Regions from separate parts of the Homo sapiens genome. Here region 2 is linked to region 1. The links are contacts of gene promoters, found by promoter capture Hi-C in blood cells and fetal thymus (Javierre and others, 2016). All regions are on one chromosome and are shown on one strand. Each heading gives the region's core, a stretch centred on a gene start or on the middle of the fragment in contact. The rest is flanking DNA. Distances are from core to core; before and after follow the strand shown.

What was found. The method cuts DNA at HindIII sites, captures the fragments that hold promoters and counts their contacts. A CHiCAGO score of 5 or more calls a contact.
Region 2: a fragment that was not itself captured here is called in contact with the fragment with the promoter of FLNB-AS1 in region 1 in 1 of 17 cell types (naive B cells); the score reaches 6.8 in naive B cells.

Annotation. Positions count from the first base shown.
Region 1 is chr3:58,168,913-58,173,184 of GRCh38, reverse strand. It overlaps FLNB-AS1 (FLNB antisense RNA 1), which reads left to right and starts at 2,550. Exons shown (of 2, transcript NR_135534.1): 1 at 2,550-2,688. It overlaps FLNB (filamin B), which reads right to left. Exons shown (of 46, transcript NM_001457.4): 45 at 3,392-3,595; 46 at 934-2,610. The coding sequence ends at 2,423. It overlaps LOC124909485, which reads right to left and starts at 1,408. Exons shown (of 6, transcript XM_047449435.1): 1 at 1,312-1,408; 2 at 1,024-1,114. The coding sequence starts at 1,408. The HindIII fragment of the contact is 5,353 bases long and covers 2,226-4,272 here.
Region 2 is chr3:57,095,862-57,100,133 of GRCh38, reverse strand. IL17RD (interleukin 17 receptor D) reads left to right here. Exons shown (of 13, transcript NM_017563.5): 12 at 1,596-2,538; 13 at 3,629-4,272. The coding sequence ends at 3,741. Among named protein-coding and RNA genes, the nearest start is that of SPATA12, 37 kb to the right of the region's middle. RefSeq lists an enhancer at 1,719-2,918. The HindIII fragment of the contact is 3,437 bases long and covers 842-4,272 here.

The sequences.
Region 1 (4,272 bases), core at 1,301-3,800:
GGTGGTAGTGCCATCTGTAAAGCGGTATCACTGCTGTGGGGTGGGGAGGAGGCGGAGACAGAGGAGGAGGAGGTGGGGGCGGAGGAGGGGTGCTAGGTACCTCGTAAGCATTCAGCAATCAAAAGCTCTTCTAGAAAAAGGAGAAACAGGCCAGTCGCAGTGGTTGACGCCTGTAATACAGCACTTTGGAAGACCAAGGCAGGGCGGATCACTTGAGGTCAGGAGTTCAAGACCAGCCTGGCCAACACGGCGAAACCACATCTCTACTAAAAAGACAAAAATTAGCCAGGCATGGTGGTGCACGCCTGTAGTCCCAGCTACTTGGGAAGCTGAGGCAGAAGAATCACTTGAACCTGGGAGGCGGAGGCTGCAGTGAGCAGAGATCCTGCCACTGCACTCCAGCCTGGGCAACAGAGTGAGACTCTGTCTCAAAAAAGGAAAATTAAAAAAAAAAAAAAAAGAGAAACAGAGGCAGCAGCAACAATAAGCACAGCAGGGTGACAGGTGACAGCTTGTTTACCAGCCCCACCCCACCCCCACAAAAGGAGCCCAGGTTCATTGTCAAAACAAGTTGCTAGTTTTGTGTCCCTTAAGGGGTTGGGAGAGCTGATCTGGGGCTCCAACGATGTGCCTGTGTGTGTGTGTGTGTGTGTGTGTGTGTGTGTGTGTGTGTTACACTGTCTTGCTCTGTTGCCCAGGCTAGAGTGCAGGGTTGCAAACACAGCTCACTGCAACCTTGGCCTCTCAGGCTCAAGCAATCCTCCTGCCTCCGCCTCCTGAGTAGCTGGGACTGCAGGCATGCATCACCATGCTGGCTAATTTTTTAATTTTTTGTAGAGGCTGGGTCTTGCTGTTACCCAGGCTGAGGGTGTTGAACTCCTAGGATTAAACAATTTATTCAGAAGCGACATCATCCAAGAACACCAAGGCAACTTTACGGAGCAAATGTTTTATTTAATAAGTTATAAGATACAATTTACAGTCGGCGTTTGATTCCAGTTTGGCTTCCGTGTCCCAGCTTACAACACCCGTGGTCCTTTCACATCAGGCTCCGGGCTGTTCCACTTTCTGTAGGGTGGGCTTTTACCCCCAACACTCGCCCCAGATACTACACCTGCCACAAGAGTGGCCACTTCCTCAGGACTAAGCAGCAAAACCTAAAGGTCTGCCTGCCCAGACCACACTACACATTTGGGCTCAGGCAACGTCCCTGACACTTTAACCTCATTCCAAAGCCAGCTCAGGTCTGCAGGAAGGCAGGCAAAATTCCCTACACCTCATTTCTGGATTTCTGCACCACACAGCTCTCACTGTTTCTGCCAATGGTGAAAAGACCACCAATAAGCTGCTGCCCTTCTCTCCCCCAACCATTCCCAACTTTCAGGCCAAAGACCCGCAGGAGTTTCATTCTGTCCTGTCTGTACAGATCATTATTTTCCAGAAAAAGTGACCCATGAAGTTGGCTGGGGCGGGTGTGGAGTGTTATGTCATGGGACGGACCTTGGGATGAGGGCGTTAATCCATGGGCCCCTCTGAGATCACTTTAAACATTTTGGTAAGACTGCCCAGGCTGATGAAGGGCTGGAGCGTGTGTTAAAAACAAGGGCTAGTGTTGGTTAAAAGGGATCTTTGGCAAGTGGGAAACTGCTCGCCACTGCAGAATTTCTTCAGACCAAGGAAGGGACTGAAACGGACTTGGAAAACTAAAGCAAAACCATGACTGCCGGGATGGTCTCGTGTGGTGATTCTGCAAGAAATAATCACCAGAGCGAGGGGACAGGTACTTGAGAGACATGTGGGCCTGGCTGCCACTCTGCCCTCTGAGTTTCTGTAGGGTGCCCGGCTGCCACTCTGCCCTCTGAGAAGTGTAAGAAGGCCACAGAGCATGGGGGTGTTGGCGATGAGGAGCGGTAAAGCAGTGCTAGTGATCTAATAGCCAAATACATTAACACGGACACTGGAAGAGATTAAGCGGATTTTAAGTCATCTCCTTTGCCAAATGACAACCAAACTAGGTGTCCCCTTTTTCTCTGCCCATCTTCCCCTAGCCTTGTTTCATAAATGCTGAAGAGTGAACCAGCAGCTCAGGCTAGCCAGTTTTGTTTTTTTGAAATGTCAGTCTCATTGTGTTCCTGGTCTGTCTGCTGCAGTGGCTGGTCTGTTCCACCAAGAGTTCTGGTTTGCACCTAGTGTACTCAGGATCTTCTCAGCCCCCTGAACAAGCTTGCATTTCTTAAGATTCTCCAATATGTCCCTCAAGAGTCCAGTCTAGGACTTATTTCTGAAGGCATTTTACAACAGCAATATTTTAGGGATGGGGTTTCAGCCCCACAAACAGGCTGGAGGGCTTTGTATAAAATGAATTACAAACAAGCAACAAAAGCAACCACAAGAACTCTCTCCAGGATTTGAGAAAACTGTTTTAAGGCACTGTGACATGAAAAGGGCTGCCAGGGATGTGTTCCTCCCCCCACTTCACAGCCAGCACATAATCGCCCCTCTCCTTGACGACGTATGTGACGTTGTATTGCTGGTTGCCTACATGCTTCATGGAGACCTCCTCGCAGGGGGTGGTGGGCCCATGGACCCCGATCAGCAGCATGTTGGAGCCTAGGAGGCAAAAGGTGGTTACTCCACCCGGATGCATCAGGACAGGCACAGGAAGAAGAGGAAATATGAGAGCCAAAGGTAAGGTGCTTCCACGATAATGCTGGGGCCCCTAAGAGGTGGGAGAGCGTGGCAATTACAAGCAGAGGCTCATAGAGCCTGACGGTGTGGGTTCGAATCCCTGCCCTGCCACTTGCTACCTGGGTGACCTTGGACTGGAATCTCACCTCTCCCTAGCTCAGCTTCCCCATCTGTAAACAGGGAATGAGAACAGCACATACCTCACGAACTAGTTGTGAGGTTTAAGAGTTATGGGTGTCAAAACCTAGCACACAGTAAGGGCTATTCTAAGTGTTGGCTATGAGAATCTTCTTGTTTACTCTCACAAGCACCTTAAGGAAGGTACTTCCGAGAAGAGGAAACTGACTTTTGGAAAGAGATTTAATAACTTTCCAAGGTCACATGGCTAAATAAGTTTTAGAACAAACGAATGAATGAATGAAGTGGCGGTACTAGGTTTCCAGCCCAGGTGTACTGGATGCCAGAACCCAGGCAACCGACCCTTGAAACCCAAATAAATACCCAAGTTCAAAAGGCAAAAGAGAAGGAAATCATTTAAAAATATTAAGTGCAGGAGAACAGGGTCATGACGATGGTTACTTGCAAACGGCTGGCCTACATGGGGGTGGGCACTGCAGGAGACCTCAGCAGGGAAGGCCAGTGTACCCAGGGTGCCCAGCCTGCCCCTGCCCCACCCCACCCTTGAAAAGGCCCAGACACCTACCAGCTTTGCTGCAGTCCACCAGGAAGGAACTCTTCTGGCCCACAAAGGCCTTTGAGAGCCCTGCCCCCTTAGAGGTCACCTTGCTGGCGTCCGAGGATGCCTTGGGAATGGCGCTATAGCAGGTCTCTGTAGACGACCTGGTCACTGACTCCACCAGGATGGATGAGGTCTCGTTGGCTGAGCCAGGGCTAACTAGACGCTGGCCTAAGATACAGGAGGGAGGGGGACAGGCATGAATGGCCAGATCAAGAGGGGTCTCTCAGCCAGAGGACAGGCGAGTACCCTACACAGTAACCCCAGGAGAGCCCGCGCACCCCAACACAAAAGCCACCACACCTGTATCTCACACCCATAATGTCTTCTAAACCCCTAGGATCCCACCCCCATACAACTAGGATCTGGCTTTCTGGGCAAATGGATGAGTCTGGCCTTGGCTGACAAGGCCAAGGACCCTCCCAATCCCCCCACCCCCTACCCACCAAAGATGTGCCTGTGGAATTCACATCTTTCTATTGACATAAAATAGTCTATGTATAAGCAGTGTAAAAGTTTGGGATGACATATAATGAAATATCAAAAAATGATTCTGTGGATGAGAAAGGATGATTTTTCTATCTGAATTTTCTAATTTTCCTGCGATGAACCTACATTCTTTATGTAACAGTGAATCATGACGTGTGGAAGGGATTTACTACAGTGTTTATGGTGGTTACCTTGGGTGGTGGCTGTGAAGTGGTTTTCATAGTTTGGTATTTTTTCCAGTGTTTTGGAGGAGACACATTTTTATAAGTATAGGAAAACTTTTTGATTATTTTTCAAGTGAAAATTAGAAATCAGGGGATTTTTCAGACCCTGATCTAAACAAATACGTAAGATTTCAA
Region 2 (4,272 bases), core at 1,311-3,810, 1.1 Mb after region 1:
TTAGCCTCTGGGGAAAACGCTCTTCCAGTTATTAGTGTAATAGTTATTGTAGAAAATTTGGAACTAGAAAAGGATGATAAATAAAACATTGTCTGGAATCCCAAACTGATTAAGGAAAATCTTAGAAAGAGGAACTCATATTTCATGTGTGGTTTATTTCCTTCCAGTCTTTTTCCATATAGGTGAACTCACACGTACAGTTTTGCCTTTGGGGCTGATTGAAATGATTTTTTGCAGTCTCTTAATAATTTTTTACACTATTAGTAGTTATATGTCAACTGCAATTTTAAATAGCTACATGATCCTCCATATTGATTTGCCATAACTGAGTTAATACAAATATTAAACATCTCAGTGGTTCAATATTGTCCCATTTGTGATGATTTCCCAAGAAAGATGCCTGGAAATGGAATTGCTGGGTCAAAGATAGAAACATTTAAAAAATGCTTGGTATATACTCCCACTGAGCTTTTAGCATGTGTAATGTTAACAAGAATTAAGGAAAGTATAAGACAATTCAGGGTTATTTTCAGCAAGTGGATGGATGTTGGGGCTTTTTCCCCATTGGTAACATCTTAGAGCAGAAGAGGAGAACAAAGTCGTTTCAGAATGCCCTTCCCTGTAAGATAGTGTGGCTGCTGTGTTTCGTCATAGCCATTGGGAATTAATAACTACAGAAGGAAAGACATCAACACAATAACCAAGAGATGTTTCTGGTAGAATTAGGTAAAAGTGGTCTGAGAAGGTGAAGTCCTCTAAGGGGCCACACATGTCTGATTTTTCTCTCCTTTGTCAGCCACGCCCACAGTCTCTCTACCAGACCGCCTTTGGGGGTAAAGCTTTGTCAATTACCAGCCTTGTAGAGATGTAGCCTTGTATACCTGTGTGAAGCCATAGAGGAAGGTGCTAGCCAGTCCTGAGTGAGTTACTCAGAATGACCATGTTAATGCAGTTCACTAGCCTCCTCTCCAGCCATGGACCAACTAGTAAACAACATAGGTGAGCCTGAGGCTATGAGAGTGTCGAGATAGGTCCCCTTTGTCAGTCACTGTCTGGATGTGAGTCACCTATAATTGTGGGTGACTGGCATCCAGGCCTGAGCCCCATCTCCCAGCTCACTTTGGAGTCACTCATCCACATCCTCCTCTCAGAGCCTGCCAGCCTTCTCTCCAGAATCTGCCCCTCCAATCTAGGCACCTCACTCACCAGATCAACCAACCTCAGTTTCTCTGTCCTGTGCTCTCTACCACCTGTTGCTTCCTTGAGGATATCCTATGTAGGGTGTGACTTGGGCAAGGTGCCAAAAGCACTGCGCTTCTGTCCCCTCACTTGTAGGGCAGGAGTGGTAATGACTCCATGTGATACAAAAATGGATGGATGGCAAGTTTTTGCAGAGGGACTAGGGTGTGACCATCACCCACGGAACTTTAGCTGTTCCTTGGTATGGTGTAACCTGGAGCCTGCACATAGCTGTGCTAATAAGGGTTAAGGGGCAGATGAGATGGCCTCCTTCTGACATTTCCCTTCCTGTTACTCACTTCCCGAGCCTCTTCCCGAGCCTTCTGTATGGGTGAGGTGCCTTGTTCTCTTTCCAGGTGGCTCTGGACCTGTGGGAAGACTTCAGCCTCTGTAGAGAAGGGCAGAGAGAATGGGTCATCCAGAAGATCCACGAGTCCCAGTTCATCATTGTGGTTTGTTCCAAAGGTATGAAGTACTTTGTGGACAAGAAGAACTACAAACACAAAGGAGGTGGCCGAGGCTCGGGGAAAGGAGAGCTCTTCCTGGTGGCGGTGTCAGCCATTGCCGAAAAGCTCCGCCAGGCCAAGCAGAGTTCGTCCGCGGCGCTCAGCAAGTTTATCGCCGTCTACTTTGATTATTCCTGCGAGGGAGACGTCCCCGGTATCCTAGACCTGAGTACCAAGTACAGACTCATGGACAATCTTCCTCAGCTCTGTTCCCACTTGCACTCCCGAGACCACGGCCTCCAGGAGCCGGGGCAGCACACGCGACAGGGCAGCAGAAGGAACTACTTCCGGAGCAAGTCAGGCCGGTCCCTATACGTCGCCATTTGCAACATGCACCAGTTTATTGACGAGGAGCCCGACTGGTTCGAAAAGCAGTTCGTTCCCTTCCATCCTCCTCCACTGCGCTACCGGGAGCCAGTCTTGGAGAAATTTGATTCGGGCTTGGTTTTAAATGATGTCATGTGCAAACCAGGGCCTGAGAGTGACTTCTGCCTAAAGGTAGAGGCGGCTGTTCTTGGGGCAACCGGACCAGCCGACTCCCAGCACGAGAGTCAGCATGGGGGCCTGGACCAAGACGGGGAGGCCCGGCCTGCCCTTGACGGTAGCGCCGCCCTGCAACCCCTGCTGCACACGGTGAAAGCCGGCAGCCCCTCGGACATGCCGCGGGACTCAGGCATCTATGACTCGTCTGTGCCCTCATCCGAGCTGTCTCTGCCACTGATGGAAGGACTCTCGACGGACCAGACAGAAACGTCTTCCCTGACGGAGAGCGTGTCCTCCTCTTCAGGCCTGGGTAAGGTGCCTTTGGGGCCGGGTCCTAACAGGCCGCAGCCTTTGACCATGCTTCTGAAATCAGTCAAAGCGTTTTTCCACTTTTGGTGCCAACTTATTGGGCAATGAAACCTGATGAGAACACAGCTCGTTTGGTAGTCTTGATTTATACCAGGTGATGGGAGTACTCACATGTTTGAGTTGCAGAAATACTAATGCTAAATTATAGTGAGCTGCCCAGACCCTGCAAGGGGTGTTGTGCCACATACAGACTATGCACTGTATCACTTTTCTAAACTCCAAAAACATCAGACACGAAAACACATTGGGCCCCAAGGGTCTTGGGTAACAGTTTGTGGATGCGTCTTTTTTAGACCTGTAATGTTCACACCCCCCGCCCCCATTGTCTTTAAAGCTACATTCATTGAGTCTGGGATTCATGGGTACAGTATTCTTTCTATCCTTCAGCATAGGGTCCCAGGTATGAGGGCTCTCTAGGAAGGCCTACTTCTGCAGGGAGCATCAGGTAGATGCCATCTCAGGCTGTCCCTTACCATGTCTGTAACTAGTTGGAGTCATGCATACAAACCCTTGACTTTTTTTTTTTTTTTTTGAGATGGAGTCTCACCCTGTCGCCCAGGCTGCAATGGCATGATCTCAGCTCACTGCAACCTCTGCCTCCTGGGTTCAAGCGATTCTTCTGCCCAGCCTCCCGAATAGCTGGGATTACAAGCATGCGCCACCATGCCCAGCTAAATTTTTGTATCTTTAGTAGAGATTGGGTTTCACCATGTTGGCCAGGCTGGTCTCAAACTCCTGACCTCAAGTGATCCCTCAACCTCGGCCTCCCAAAGTGCTGGGATTACAGGCGTGAGCCACTGCGCCCGGCCTAAACGCTTGACTTTTAAGAAATATCTCTTCCTTCCTCAACTAAGGGAACTAGAACCTGTTAGGAGGATGAGAGTGCCCCATCTTGAGTTGGTTGGGATTCTTGCCTCGTTTATACAGAGCCCATAGTCCAAACCCAGATCCAGTCACATTCTGCCATGAGCACCTGCCCAGCCCAGTGAAATGCAATGACAGTGTGACTCTGTACTCTCTTCTCTCCTTAGGTGAGGAGGAACCTCCTGCCCTTCCTTCCAAGCTCCTCTCTTCTGGGTCATGCAAAGCAGATCTTGGTTGCCGCAGCTACACTGATGAACTCCACGCGGTCGCCCCTTTGTAACAAAACGAAAGAGTCTAAGCATTGCCACTTTAGCTGCTGCCTCCCTCTGATTCCCCAGCTCATCTCCCTGGTTGCATGGCCCACTTGGAGCTGAGGTCTCATACAAGGATATTTGGAGTGAAATGCTGGCCAGTACTTGTTCTCCCTTGCCCCAACCCTTTACCGGATATCTTGACAAACTCTCCAATTTTCTAAAATGATATGGAGCTCTGAAAGGCATGTCCATAAGGTCTGACAACAGCTTGCCAAATTTGGTTAGTCCTTGGATCAGAGCCTGTTGTGGGAGGTAGGGAGGAAATATGTAAAGAAAAACAGGAAGATACCTGCACTAATCATTCAGACTTCATTGAGCTCTGCAAACTTTGCCTGTTTGCTATTGGCTACCTTGATTTGAAATGCTTTGTGAAAAAAGGCACTTTTAACATCATAGCCACAGAAATCAAGTGCCAGTCTATCTGGAATCCATGTTGTATTGCAGATAATGTTCTCATTTATTTTTGATGTAGAATTTACATTGCCATGGGTGTTAAA